Regions from separate parts of the Homo sapiens genome. Here all the other regions are linked to region 2. The links are contacts of gene promoters, found by promoter capture Hi-C in blood cells and fetal thymus (Javierre and others, 2016). All regions are on one chromosome and are shown on one strand. Each heading gives the region's core, a stretch centred on a gene start or on the middle of the fragment in contact. The rest is flanking DNA. Distances are from core to core; before and after follow the strand shown.

Evidence for each region. Contacts are between HindIII fragments. The CHiCAGO score rates a contact against its expected background, and 5 or more counts as called.
Region 1: a fragment that was not itself captured here is called in contact with the fragment with the promoter of IL1RAP in region 2 in 1 of 17 cell types (non-activated CD4 T cells); the score reaches 7.3 in non-activated CD4 T cells.
Region 3: a fragment that was not itself captured here is called in contact with the fragment with the promoter of IL1RAP in region 2 in 2 of 17 cell types (naive CD8 T cells and activated CD4 T cells); the score reaches 7.4 in naive CD8 T cells.

Annotation. Positions count from the first base shown.
Region 1 is chr3:186,573,022-186,577,565 of GRCh38, forward strand. It overlaps DNAJB11 (DnaJ heat shock protein family (Hsp40) member B11), which reads left to right. Exons shown (of 10, transcript NM_016306.6): 3 at 2,819-2,916. Among named protein-coding and RNA genes, the nearest start is that of DNAJB11, 4.6 kb to the left of the region's middle. The HindIII fragment of the contact is 994 bases long and covers 1,000-1,993 here.
Region 2 is chr3:190,512,639-190,517,060 of GRCh38, forward strand. It overlaps IL1RAP (interleukin 1 receptor accessory protein), which reads left to right and starts at 1,447. Exons shown (of 12, transcript NM_002182.4): 1 at 1,447-1,581. RefSeq lists enhancers at 794-883, 1,636-2,137, 2,138-2,637 and a silencer at 1,034-1,383. The HindIII fragment of the contact is 8,413 bases long and covers 1-4,422 here.
Region 3 is chr3:187,362,372-187,366,976 of GRCh38, forward strand. No RefSeq gene overlaps it. Among named protein-coding and RNA genes, the nearest start is that of RTP4, 3.7 kb to the right of the region's middle. The HindIII fragment of the contact is 3,602 bases long and covers 319-3,920 here.

The DNA.
Region 1 (4,544 bases), core at 247-2,746, 3.9 Mb before region 2:
TGGGGATCAAAACACTCTCATGTGTATCATCTCATTTAATCTTCACTAGGACACCAGGAAATATATTAGAGCTAGGCATATTTTTATTCTCATTTTCTAAATGGACACAGAAAAAAATTAATTGAACTAAAAGTCATAGAGCTAAAACTCCTGAATTTAAGTTTAAATTCTTGTATATTGAGAAGGCTAAAAACAAATTGAAAAATATTTTAGGAAGACACAAACCTTGAAAGGAAGGAATCCCAAGATCTCTAGATTAAAGAAGCAATGGAATTGAAACAGTGAGTTATACCCAGGTGAACCCAAGAGCTGTTGGGGTCCTTTCATCTTTCAACACCTTCAGGGATCCTATGGGGCAGAAATTCTTTTTTATTTTTTTTTGAGACAGAGTCTCGCTCTGTCTGCCAAGCTGGAGTAGAGTGGCACGATCTCGGCTCACTGCAAGCTCCGCCTCCTGGGTTTTACGCCATTCTCCTGCCTCAGCCTCCTGAGTAGCTGGGACTACAGCTGTGCACCACCATGCCCAGCTAATTTTTTGTATTTTTAGTAGAGACAGGGTTTCACTGTGTTACCCAGGATGGTCTCGATCTCCTGACCTCATGATCCACCCGCCTCGGCTTCCCAAAGTGCTGGGATTACAGGCATGAGCCACCGTGCCTGGCCAAGGGACAGAAATTCTTAACCTGAGGCACATCAATAAACTTGGGAAGGTTAATGGCCCATCCTAAATTATATGTAATATTTTGTTTCTTGTTGATAATATGCATTCTATATTTTGCACTGTATTTTCCATGAATAGTCCCCTTGTTTGCTAGGAACCTAATACTCAAAAACATTTTCTAGGGAAGCTGAATTTACCATGCTCTCTAAAGAATCTTCACGTTCTTTATCAATGACCTAGGCAGGCTATACAAAGGTCAGTCATGAAATCGTGGCTTATTTAACTATAACAATCCTTTTAGCCACTAGTTCAAATTTCTGTTTTCTTTTTATCATTCAAGCTTGATTGCCTTTAGTCTTAGGTAAATTAGTGTTCACAAATTAGAATCCGAGTACAGTTATGAAGAATCTTTTGTGAATACAAATTTGTTTTCTCTACAGAGCTAGGATCACTGCTGGCATTTTAATTACTTGAGAATCTGTGTATTGGTTGGCCAATCAACTAAAAACCTTTTTTCTTTTAAAATAGTTTCCAAGACCATAGAATAAAATTGCATTCCTTGATGGAAGAAAAGTGAGGAGGAAGTAAATGATAATGACTTCAAGAGTAGTTTTTAGGGGGTTATTACAGAAGCCTCTGATGTCTAAAAAGAAACTGACTTAAAACTAGTCTTTGGGGGTTTTGAAATGGTGTTTTTTATAGTCTCAAATGCAGGGTTCATTTATTTGTGAAGATCAGATCAGAGAAGTAGACTAAAAGTGAAAATATTGGAGATCCAGTTAATAATAAGGGTTTTTTTTTTTTTCAAGTTAATTGTGCCCATTTCTGCTTCCCCAAAGTACCTATTTTCTAAAGATACTTGTGAAAACATGCTTTCCTCTCCCTTTTTCTTTCATAGTGGCTGTAATCAAGTACTGTGGTCACTTCTGGAATAACCCATTTGCCTTTGCTTTTAAGAATGTTCACTCTCTTGTATACTCAATTTCTATTTATCCTTTCAAGGATATCTTAAATGTTAATACATTTTTGCCATGACTCCTTACACCTCATTTGGGCCCTAAGCCAAAAATGTGTCCTGTGTGAATATGCCTTTCTTTTAAGTCAACAAGCCCCGTCTACTTTGAACCTCTCTTTTTCTGGGCCACCATGAGTGTGGTTTTGAAATAACTCTCTCCTTCAGACTCTTGTCTAAGTAGGAGTTTATAAATATCAAAGGAAGATTTTAAAGCCATTTAATTTTCACAAGTATATATGTGCATATATATCAGATTGCTCTAAATAAAAGAGAAAGTTTTTTTTTGCATGTTGAAGGCAAATTTTGAAAAGGATGGAAGCTTATTTTGTTGTTACATTCTTTAATATACAGAGAGAAAGCATATAGTCATGATTGTGTATGTAGTTCTCTGAAACTTAAAACTTCAAGAATTATTTCAAGCAATGAAATTGACCTTGAATAACCTTCATAGAGTATTTTTACTTACTACTCTTTCTGCATTTCAAACTCAGGACATTACAAACTTAAACATATATATATATGGCAGGCAAAATTCTTCCACAAATGGATTTCTGCATATACCAAAAAATGAAAAAAGGAGGATGAAAAGATATCAGTGTAGGCCTCTCTGGAGGGCCTGTCATTTGATTTCCTTGACTTGACAATCTCCTAATACATGCGCGCGCGCGCGCGTGTGTGTGTGTGTGTGTGTGTGTCTGTGTGTGTGTGTTTTGGGTAGGGGGTGTTATAGACCTGTGGGGCCAAGTTGTTCTGAAGGCAGTATAGTGGTTAACAGCATAAGCACCAAAGTCAAACTGCATGGGAAGTAAACCTGAGGAATCCGTCTTAACTCTTTCCTGTCACCACCCTGACCTTCACAGCTGCATTGCTAATCTCAGGTATTATTTTTTAGTGACTACACGAGTTTTGAGAACTTTAAATTAAAAACATGAATGGAGCAATGTGGAATGAACAGTGCATCAAAGAATTTAGTCTTAGAGAAAATAACTTTGTAAATATGCCTTAATACAGTACATAATGGAAACTGCATTCTATTAAAATTTTAGACCCACTGTCAAAGTAAAAACAAACATAAATATGACTGTGCCTTAACTGGATATTACCAACTCATGATCTTTTCCTCCACTGGCTTTTATCCCCAGGTTCTGTCAGATAGTGAGAAACGGAAACAGTACGATACTTATGGTGAAGAAGGATTAAAAGATGGTCATCAGAGCTCCCATGGAGACATTTTTTCACAGTGAGTAATTTACCCATCTGCAAAGTGTTAGTGTCTGAGAGAGGGTCACTTAGCGATTAAAGAATTATTCTCATTCCCTAGTTCAGAAACTTTTGATGAACAGTACAATTTAGCTGATCCAAAGATCAATTATTGTCCTCCCTGTGGGAAGATAGTCTTCTATTTTCACAAAGCTTCAGGAAAGACTGATGGCACTGAAAGGACATTCCATCTAGCCAACCATATCAGTTAAATCAGTGCAGACAATTCACGGGGACATGTGTTGGAAATCAGTTCATCCTTGCCTACTTGCTACCTTGCAATCTGCAAACCACTTAATGAGCAAAATTATTGTTAGCAGAGATAGAAAAATTCCTGCTCCCATACCCAGAGCTGCCTCTCTTTCGTGCTATCAACAAGTGAGGGTGATTATAATAACCAGCATTAGGGGAAGGAATTAGGGTAGAGGACCTTTATCTCTTGCTTTCTGGGAGTGCTGGGTGGTTGGAATAATAAACACTTTCTTCCTCACTCTTTGAACCTCTCTTTATTGAGCATTTGAATTTCCACATTCCCTGATGATTACATATACTAAGAGACTTTAATCTGGGGTTTCAGGTCTGAAATTATAAACAAAAAGATGTTCGAATCTGCATTTTTATGGGGAGAGTTCATTGTTTTCTTCAGATTCTCAAAGGGTTCTGTGAACCCTTCCCCAAAAGAAGTAAGAATCACTGTTGCATATAGTAGTTACCACCATTTAGTGCTTGGTTGAGGGGCCTGGGGTGGGGGAGTAGATTTTTAGGGTCTGTAAAGATGTGTGAGTAACATGATTAGGACATCTTTTCCCCCCGCCAGGATCAATTTGGCTGGCTGAAGTGATCCCTAGGGAATACCAGAAAGAGAAACAGCTTCCCCAGCCCCCACCCTGTTCTTTCCCCTTGCCTTTATTTAAGATTCAGGGAATTCATTCACCTGAGTTGGTTGGTGGGAGAGGGAGTTATATAGTTATCATCTTCGCTATGCTAATATACAAGGCTTCTTAATAACACCAAAAATTAACATTAGATTAAACCACCTGTAGGATTGAAGGTCACCTTTTTTGTTAATCTCAAGTTACTCTTGTTACTTACAAAAATTAGTTTGGGTCTTATAGAGGCTAGAACTTCCTTCTCCTTAAGCACTAGGATTTTACTAAGGCTGATGCTTTTTTAGCTTATTTAATTACATACTCAAGATTTTTGTGTAGAGCAGTAGCTTCTTTCAACAAGTTAGCTTCTAAAAAGCATGTAAAGAGAACACTACATATGTTAAAATTACCGATAAAAATTTCTTAAATTAACCATTACATTTAGCATTACACAAGTTTATGTATACTATACTCTTTCTCAATAAGTCCACCATATTCAGATTTTTCCCAATATTGAAAGATTATTATTTCATTGGTTGGGTCCAACATTGAATTCATTGGCATACTGTGTGTGTATGTACTGTACTATATGTATGGGCTATATTTTGTTAAAAAGTGGATTTTTTTGTAGTAAGGGACCGTATAGTTACAACATGGTTGATAGTATATAAATTTAAAATTATGTATGATAGTTGACTCCATTGTATTAAAAAATACCTTGTAGTTTTGCACAATGCAT
Region 2 (4,422 bases), core at 197-2,696:
ATACAGGTAACATTTTAAATTCTTTTGGATTATTTTCTCTTTGGTTCAGTGACAATGTTGTGAGCAGGTGCTGGGTCCCAGGTATCCTGAGATAAATAAAAATTTTGAGCAATTAATTTTCATAAGTGATGTCAAGAAGTAAAGTATCATGAACATTTCTATGGCTCCAATTACACTGATATTTCACCTTAGGAACTGAAGCTCCGCCAGGGCAGGGGCAGCCTCTGAGTTTCGTACTGCTGTGCACCTTTAGCAGCACGGGCACCTGCTGGTTTCATTTCCTTCCCACTCACCTGGGCCCTTTTCTTATTTCACATCTTTTTTCTCCTTTTCCTTAAATGCTTTCTCTGAATCTTGATTCTTGAAAATAAATTAGTAGGATTCAGTTAGGTAGGAGGAGGAGAAAAGAAGATGTGATGAGCAAGAAGATGTGCGAAGACTCGTCAGTCTGGTAGGTGGCTTTGGTTAGGGGGTTTCAGAAATGGGGACAGGTCATGAAGGGCCTTGCCAGTCAGGAAAAATCATGAGGCACTAGCAGTAGGAACACAGCAGAAGGTGCCTGAACAAGAGAGATGACTTAATGAAAGCCTTTATAACGCTTCCCGGGATATATTACAGACTACCATCTACAGTGGCAGAGGGCAGCTGAAGGAAGGCTCTTGCAAAAACTTGGGGAAATGGAAATGAATGAAGGCAAATATTTGTTTTGAGATTATTTCCTTCTATGTAACCTATTAGTTCTTTTATTCGTTCCCCATACATGTATTGAGTGCCTACTTTGTGCCAGGCACTGTGCTAGGCAATGGGTATATTACCAGTGGACAATACAGATTTAGTCTTGCTGTCATGTCCTGTTGCTTGCTCATATGAATGTCAGTTCAAGACAGCAAGAGCTCAGGACTGCGGAGATCGCATCTACATCCTGCCGCGCTCTGTGCCGGCACAGGGTGGTTGCGAAAATCGTGCAGTCTGAATTGATTCAAGGCCTTGCAGCATGATTGCTAAATACGTCGAGACAGGAAGAAAGGGCAGGGTGGCACCGATCTCAACTGCGAGAGCACGATCTTGCAATGAGCGCATGTGTGCGCCTCGGTGTGTAGTGAGGGGCGTAGCTTCCCACAGCGCCTGGCAGCGTGCCGAGCTGCGCTGCAGGACTAACCCTCTCCTTTCCCCGCGCGCTCAAGCCCGCACAGGCGGTGGCAGGGAGCCGAAGGGGCCGAGCGCAGCCTTGCATCCGTCCGCAGGCGGGCCCGGCGCCGCGCCTCCTGGCGGCGGGCGGGACCGTCCAGGACGCCGCCCCGCGGCCGCAGCTCCTGGAAGCCCAGAGCGCCGGTGGATCGCGAGCCAAGGCGGCGGGTGGAGCCTGAGCCGTGAGGCCGTGGCCAATCGCGCCGCTCCGGGGGAGGAGCCCCAAAGGGGGAAAAGAAAGTGCGGCGGAAAGTAAGAGGCTCACTGGGGAAGACTGCCGGGATCCAGGTCTCCGGGGTCCGCTTTGGCCAGAGGCGCGGAAGGAAGCAGTGCCCGGCGACACTGCACCCATCCCGGCTGCTTTTGCTGCGCCCTCTCAGCTTCCCAAGAAAGGTGAGTCTCGCGCCGCCGTGAGGGCTCAGAAGTCACCAAGCCGCAGAATCTCAGGGTAGACGGATTCTTAGAGATCCTATCGTTAAACCCTCCTACTTTACAGAAGAGGAAACTGAGGCACAGAACGAGGCAGCGGCTGGGATAGGTCATACTGCTAGTTAGGACTGGAGCCCGGATTCGAACCCAAACGTTCAGAGACCCATCTTTGCTTTGCAGGGATTTAAGTAACGCGGTTGTGGGACGTCTGCTCGTTGCCGCCCCCATCCTCAGCCCTTTGAGGGGTCTACCCTTGTTTTCCTCCTCACCGCCCCCTCCCCGCTACCACCCCCCGCCCCCATCTCCTCCTTGGTTTCTCCAGACCGCTGCTGGAAGCGCCGAGGACAGAAGGAAGCGGTGTGTCCCAGCACGCCCACTCGGTATCACGTCGCTCTCAGCGCAGAGCTGTGACAGCCTGGGAAAATGCTGCTTGCAGCCTCACTCCCTCTTCCCCTGACCTGCTTTCTCAGAAAGATGCCCCTTCAGAGGGTGTCGGACCAGCTTCTGGAGGAGCGCGGGGAGAGAGGAGCGAGGCCCGGGCGCCAGTGACCTCCTATGGTACTGTTTCTTCCCAGCCCCGGAGGAAGCGGAGCTAGTGGCCCTGTGGGGCACAGGGTGCCCCTCACTTGGGAAGAGCTGACTTCATGGAACCATAGAGCCCCTTCCCTCTTCTAAATACTGAGAGGGAGCAAGGAAGCTGAGTTAAAGAGAAAATCACAAACATAAAAGCAAACTTCGGCTGTTTCCTTTAAGAGCTAGCCCACAGCCTGTCTTCCCTCCACCTTCTGGTTGTGAAATTGTGAACCAGGGCGCCACGCGAAGCATTCTGCTGCTCTGCTGTACAGATCCCTGGTTTAGCTACTGGATGAGAAAGAGGACTTGAGTTTTGACTCCAGCTCTTCCATGTATTAGCAGTGTGAACTTGGGCAAGTTATCTCACCTTTCCGATACTGGGTTTTTCTTTTCTTTCTTTCTTCCTTTTTTTTTTTTCCAGCCAAAAAATGGAGATTTATAATGGTCACAATGAGCCCTTTGGGTAGTTGGAAGGATGAAATGGGATCATTCAAGTAGCATGTTTAGCACAGTGCCTGGCCTGGCATCTGGTTGGTTCAAAACCAATGGCAACTATTGTAAATATTGTTACATAGTAACCTTGCAGACAGTGGGTTTTCAGAAAGGTGATTTCATACCATCTTACAGAGGCATTTTAAAAAAATCTGTAAATGTGGTGTCTTTCTTCTTTTGAATTTGAGCAACTCTTTTATAATAAGAATTTTCTGAATGTTGTCCATATGTGATGTGGATCATGGATGCTTAGCTCGAAATGTAAAATTGATGTTTCTCGGTGATATGAATTTCCTACTAGTTTTTAGGTCAAACCTCAGGCCTGTGAACTGCCCTGATCTGAGACATCCTTTATTGACAAAGAGGGTCTTGAAATGGGTGAGAGGCAGAAAGACAAGAAGACAAAGTTGGAAGTTGCAGCTGTGTTACAGATTATTCTAAGCCTTCTATCCTTGCTCTCTTAGGTCAGTCGAGCAACCTTACATTTTTCATCTAGTATCAGAAAACAAACAAAATTCTCATATATTTCTTTTGGATTGTACAGAGATGCTGCTAAATGCAAACCTTTCTGGACACAAACTTGCCTTATTTAAACACGAACACACAGACATTCACATGCCCACACTAGTCTTCCTGTATTATTGGTATTTTAAAGTTAAATGGATTCCCTCCCACACCCTTAACCCTTCTCATGACAATTGATTTTATTCTGATGAACTTCATGCAATAATTTACTACTATCTACTGGCTTTGCCATGCGTCCTTAAATTGAGTGTCCAGCATTTGTAGTTGGCTGCCTCCTTCACAGGCCATAGCATTTGTATGCAGTATTGGTAAGTGCTTGAGAACAGAGTGTGATACATCTTGATGGAAGATAAGAGCCCAGTGGTGCCCACTTAAGTACCTCCCGCACCAAGCATTAGTAAAGGATGGGATCACCTGCTTCTATCAGCTTGTTCCATGTACATGCATTGTGGTGAGCTGGCTGGGATATGACTGAATGTGTGCCTGAGAGACAGGGGCCTTGTGGGGGAAAAGGAAAATGTTCAAAATAAGGTCAGATCATGAGGATGGAAGGGAGATTAAAAGCTAATTCCTTTGGTTCTGATTCTTCAAAGAAAGGTTGGTCAATTATACCCATATCTTCATACAGATTATTACTTGTTACCAAAACCATATATATGTATAGAACTTTAAAATTTCCAAAGTGCATTCTGTATATATGATACTCCTTGTTACTCACAATAGCCCTGGGAGGACATGGCAAGAATATTAATAGAGGAAGGAGCCCAGGTTTTGTGGTCAGACCTACTTGATTTCAAATTCCAGCTCTCATGCCTGAGTAGTTGGGTGATATTGAGCAGTTTATTTAATCATTTGAAGTTTCTGTTTTATCCAGTTCTAAAATGGAAAAAAAAAATGCTTACTTTAAAAATCTGTATAACGAATAAATTCAATAGAATAATGTCAAGTACATGTAGTGAATAGGTGCTCATTAAATGATATCTCTTCTTAGCTAGTCTCAATTTATTTAGAACATAACTGGAATGAGACTCAGAGAAATGAAAAGTTGCTAGAGGTCATGTGTTAGTATGTTTCAACTCTGGGAATACAGTTCACACCTTTTCATGTCTAGTTTAGGGCATTTCCCATCACACTCTGTTTCCTCGCCAATGAGATATTTAACAATTTACTTCAGTTATAAAGTTGACCTTATTTGTCTGGTTATTTCAGGATATC
Region 3 (4,605 bases), core at 870-3,369, 3.1 Mb before region 2:
ATTGCCAATTTCAGTTTAAAGTGTTCTTACCCTACCAGTACTAGTTCCGGCTGTGAACTTCCATTCCTGGGCTTTGGCTCTGATAAGCTGTGACTCCCTGTATCTGCCCATCTATTGCTCTAGTTTTCAGGGTAGCAGTTTGCCCTGTGACTTCAATTCTCTGATGTACTTAAGAGTAACAAACCTGCACGTTGTGCACATGTACCCTAGAACTTAAAGTATAATAAAATAAAATATATATATAAAAAAAAGAAGAGTTGTTGATTTTCAGTTCGTTCAGCTTTTCTCTTGCTATGAGGATGGGGGTGATGACTTCCAAGCTTCTTACAAGTCAGACTGGAAACGGACTTTTTTACACATGGAAGAAGAAGAAGAAAAAGAAAATAAGTTGCACTCTGTATTGGTTGAAATTCTTTTAAAAGCAGAGCCTGAGGCAAGAACTTGCTGCAAGTAGTTAATATGAAAAGTGATCCCTGAGGGCAGGAGTGAGAGATTGGTAAAGTGAATCAGGAACAGGAGAAAAGTTCATTTACAGAGTATAGCTTTGGCCTGCTTGTTTCCTGACATTGGCCTGATATGGGGGTGATTAAACACTCTGCATATGTAGGGTACCTATGTTCACCACAGCCTTGGAACAGAGCAGAAAAAGTCCTGCCTCTGATTTTAAGACCATTTGTGCTGAAATAGAGGAGGTGGCTGTCAAGAATAGGAGTCGGGGTCTCTATTTGCAGTGGTCTCAACTGGTCACCTCTCCAGGGCTTAGCTTTCATTAAGCTCACAGACATTCTTTCTACTAAAAAATATCCAAATGATTGTCTGTTGAGGCAAATTCCACATCTGAACAATGGGCCTCAAGAGGCCTGAGGCCCAGCAGATTTTCACAGAAGCTGTGAAACAAACGGCCCCTTTGGAAACTTGTAAGTTTTTATTTTAGTTCTTTTGATTTTATACATTTCTTCTTGCTATTTCTCAGAGGTTACCTTTAATCTAATCTTTGCCCTCCTGAATGGTGTTCTTAGCAGGCTTAGCCCCTAGGCCTGAGTAGCAGTTGGCTCTGGGTGTCACACTTCATTTTACTTCTTGTTTCACCTTTTACAGAGCAGTTGGCCACCAAGACAGAGGTTGGACAAGTGTCCTGGGGTAAGAGCTGGCCTTGCCAGCCAAGTGCCATAGACGTTCATCTCTTTCAGTCAGATACCCACCAATTCTTATCACTCTTGTCTAGCCTCCTTTCTTCCCAAGCCTAAAATGTCCCCAAGAAGAACATATTTCTATGTGTTAAGTTTTGTGCTAGCCCTATTTGTGATGGGTCATATGATATTCCAAAAATGGGTACATGCCTAAGGTTCCAAAAACTGAACTTAAGCCTTGATTAACCCAAATCTATCTTGACTTCAGTTTTTGTAATTTGTTGGACTATTGCAGAAATGGCAAAAATGTTTCATATACCAATCAGTTTCTAGTGGCTGCCTAGAAAGCTGTGATGAGGGAAATTCTTAAGTAACACCCAGACCCCGAGGGAAAGGTGAGAAGGTTGATTGGCAATGTCTGTCTTACACAAGAAAAGGGGAGAGACATTGTTTGCCATCCCAGGATTATAAGACCTTGTAGATTCATTTCAGCTCTGAACGGTTAAGAATCTAAATTTTGCTATGCCCCGCTTCTTCAGAATTCATCAGTTTTTTTTTTTTTCCAGCTGTCTCTTAGCAGTTGTTTAACCAATCTGGGATAAACCGTCAACAGTTGAAAGCTCGAAGGTTGCAACTATCACATCGCATTCCTTGGGTAAGTCATTTTCTTCACTGGGTCTCAGTGAAATTGGAGGGGCTGTCACAAGATATCTAAGGTCTCTTTCAATGACCAAGTCCCACAATTCTATTATTCTGGAGTTACAATGCCTTGGTGAAAACAAACAAACAAACAAACAAACCACCCACCAAGTGGCTTAAGTACACTGTAGGGTTGCAGAAGGGGCTGTATTTTCTTCTTTTCCTTCTCTTTCTTTTTCCGTTCCTTCTTGGTAATGAGGAAGGTAGGTAGTGGGCTTCATCCAGCCCTCAAATCTCAAAGTGATACTGTAAAATATATATTTGATCATTGACTCCATTTCCTGGCATACAACTCTTAAAATCCTTAGAATCTCTGAAGAGATCTTTTTGTATGCTAATGAAATGACAGGTGGCCGGCAGCTCCTAGGTCGCTTCAGGATGAGAGCTGGTCGCCAGAAAGTTCCAGGCAGAATTAGAGTGTTGGGACTTTCAGTCTCATCCCCTAATCTCTAAGGCTGAAGACTAAGTTCATCACCAGTGGTCATAGTTTAATCAATCATGCCTGCGTAATGAAGTCTCCATAAAAGCTCCAAATGGACAGGGTTCAGACAGCTTCAGGATAGCCCAACACAAGGAGGCTCCTGGAGGATAGTGTGCCCAGGGTGGGCTTCCATGCCCCTTCCCATACCTTTCCGTATGCATCTCTTCATCTGTATCGCCTTTAATACCTTTATAATAAACTGGCACACATAAGTAAGTGTTCTTCTGAGTTCCATGAGCCACTCCAGCAAATTAATCGAACTTAAGGAGGGAATCCTAATGTATAACCAGTTGGTCAGAAGCACAGGTAAAATAACATGGGGCTTTCAACTGGCCCCAAGCCCCAGCCTGAAGTTGTAGGGGAACAGTCTTGTGGACTGGGCCCTCCACCCTTGGGATCTCATGCTGGGTTGGGGTAGATAGTATTAGAACTGAATTGAATAAGAGGTCATCTAGTTGGTGTCCTCTGCAGAATTAAGTGACTGCTTGCTTGGTGAGGAAACTCCCCACATATTAGGTTAGAAGTCTTTTGTGTTGATTGCTACTGAGTGACAGAATAGAAAAAGCACTTTGAGTGTGTTTCTTCAACACATGTTACCCTTAATCTTCCTGCTGAACCCCCATGCAAAGGACCAGGCTGACCTGAACAATTGGGTATATCAAAGGGCACACATGAAGAAGAGGCAGAAGGAAATCATGAAGGCATGCAATGCGCCGGATCAAGCTACCTTTTGGGAAAAACAGAGCATTTGAGGTGTCAGGGGTAAGGGGACTCTCTGAAGGTACACTCTGAAGATACAGAATAAGTAGAGTGGACTTGGGATCCTAAACCCAGCGGAAAGTGAAGAGAAAGGGTAGAGAAATGATTTATGCATGGGTGGAGCAAGAGAGCAGAACTTGAAGCCAGGCCCTGTATTGGCACTAATTTGCTGTGTGACCTTAGGCAAGAGACCTTATTCCTCTGGGTCTCAGTTTTCTTTTCTCTTTTTTTTTTTTTTTTTTTTGAGACGGAGTTATGCTCTTGTCACTCAGGCTGGAGCGCAATGGCATGACCTCGGCTAACTGCAACCTCTGCCTCCTGGGTTCAGGCAATTCCCCTGCCCTGGCCTCCCAAGTAGCTGGGATTACAGGCATGCGCCATCATGCCTGGCTGACTTTGTAATTTTTAAAGTAGAGATGGGGTTTCATCATGTTGGTCAGGTGGTCTCAAACTCCTGACCTCAAGTGATCTACCCTCCTTGGCCTCCCGAAGTGCTGAGATCACAGGCGTGAGCCACGGTGCCCAGCCTCAGTTTTCTCGTGTATAAAAATTAAAGGGAAAAGGGATAAGTTGATTTCTAAGGGTTTTCCCAACTCTAACATCCTGTGGATCCAATTACAAGTTCTTAGAGCTTCCTATATCATGTGTATAGACACAGGTATCCAGGAAGGGAAGGAAAGAGAGAGGGTGTCTCTGAGTCGCTGACAGGGCACATGGAAGCCTAGAAAACCCAGGAAGACTGAGGCTGATCCTGTCTCAGACACAGAAGCTGTAGCGGGTGTTCTAAAGACCTAAGTAAGCATCCTGCTTGTCCTATCTCCCCTATTTGAATTTAAGCCCCAGGAGGACAAAGCTTACTCTCTGGAATCTCCGCGTTTTAGACTTACAAGTGTCTTTAAAGGTCATCTCATCTCAATCCCTTACCCCAAAATGGGAATTCTCTGTATCCTACCACTGAAAGACGGCCCCCACACCTGTGCGTATTTGCCCTTCCACATAATTTACAGAGTGGAGGGCAGAGTTTGATAATCCCTTCATGCAGCTGACCTCCTGCCTCAGGACCCAGGAAATCTCCCTACGGTTCCTCTGACACTGGCTCCAGTGTGCCAGCCTGGAACCTGAAATGCCATTCTCAGCTTCTCTTCAGGGAGTGAGGTGGGCGGACACATGGCAGGTTTTGGAGTCACACAGACCCGGGTTCAAGTCTCACTTCCACTGCTCGTTAACTGAGGGGATTTGGACAAAGTACCCCAGCTTTCTGTGCAGTTAACCTGCAAAACTCCAAGAATAATCCTTCGCGGGACTGGTGAGGATACATGGGGTGTAGGAGATGAGCATTAAACACGTGCTCCCCTACGCTGCTCCTAACCTCCCTGTCTCCACCTGGGTGTGAGCATCTGTGGGGGCAGGAATTGTTTCTTAGCTACAGGATACTCTTTTCCCAGTGCCAAAAACAGTGCTTTTGTGTCCGGAATTGGTGGGTTCTTGGTCTCACTGACTTCAAAAATGAAGCCACCGACCCTCATGGTGAGTGTT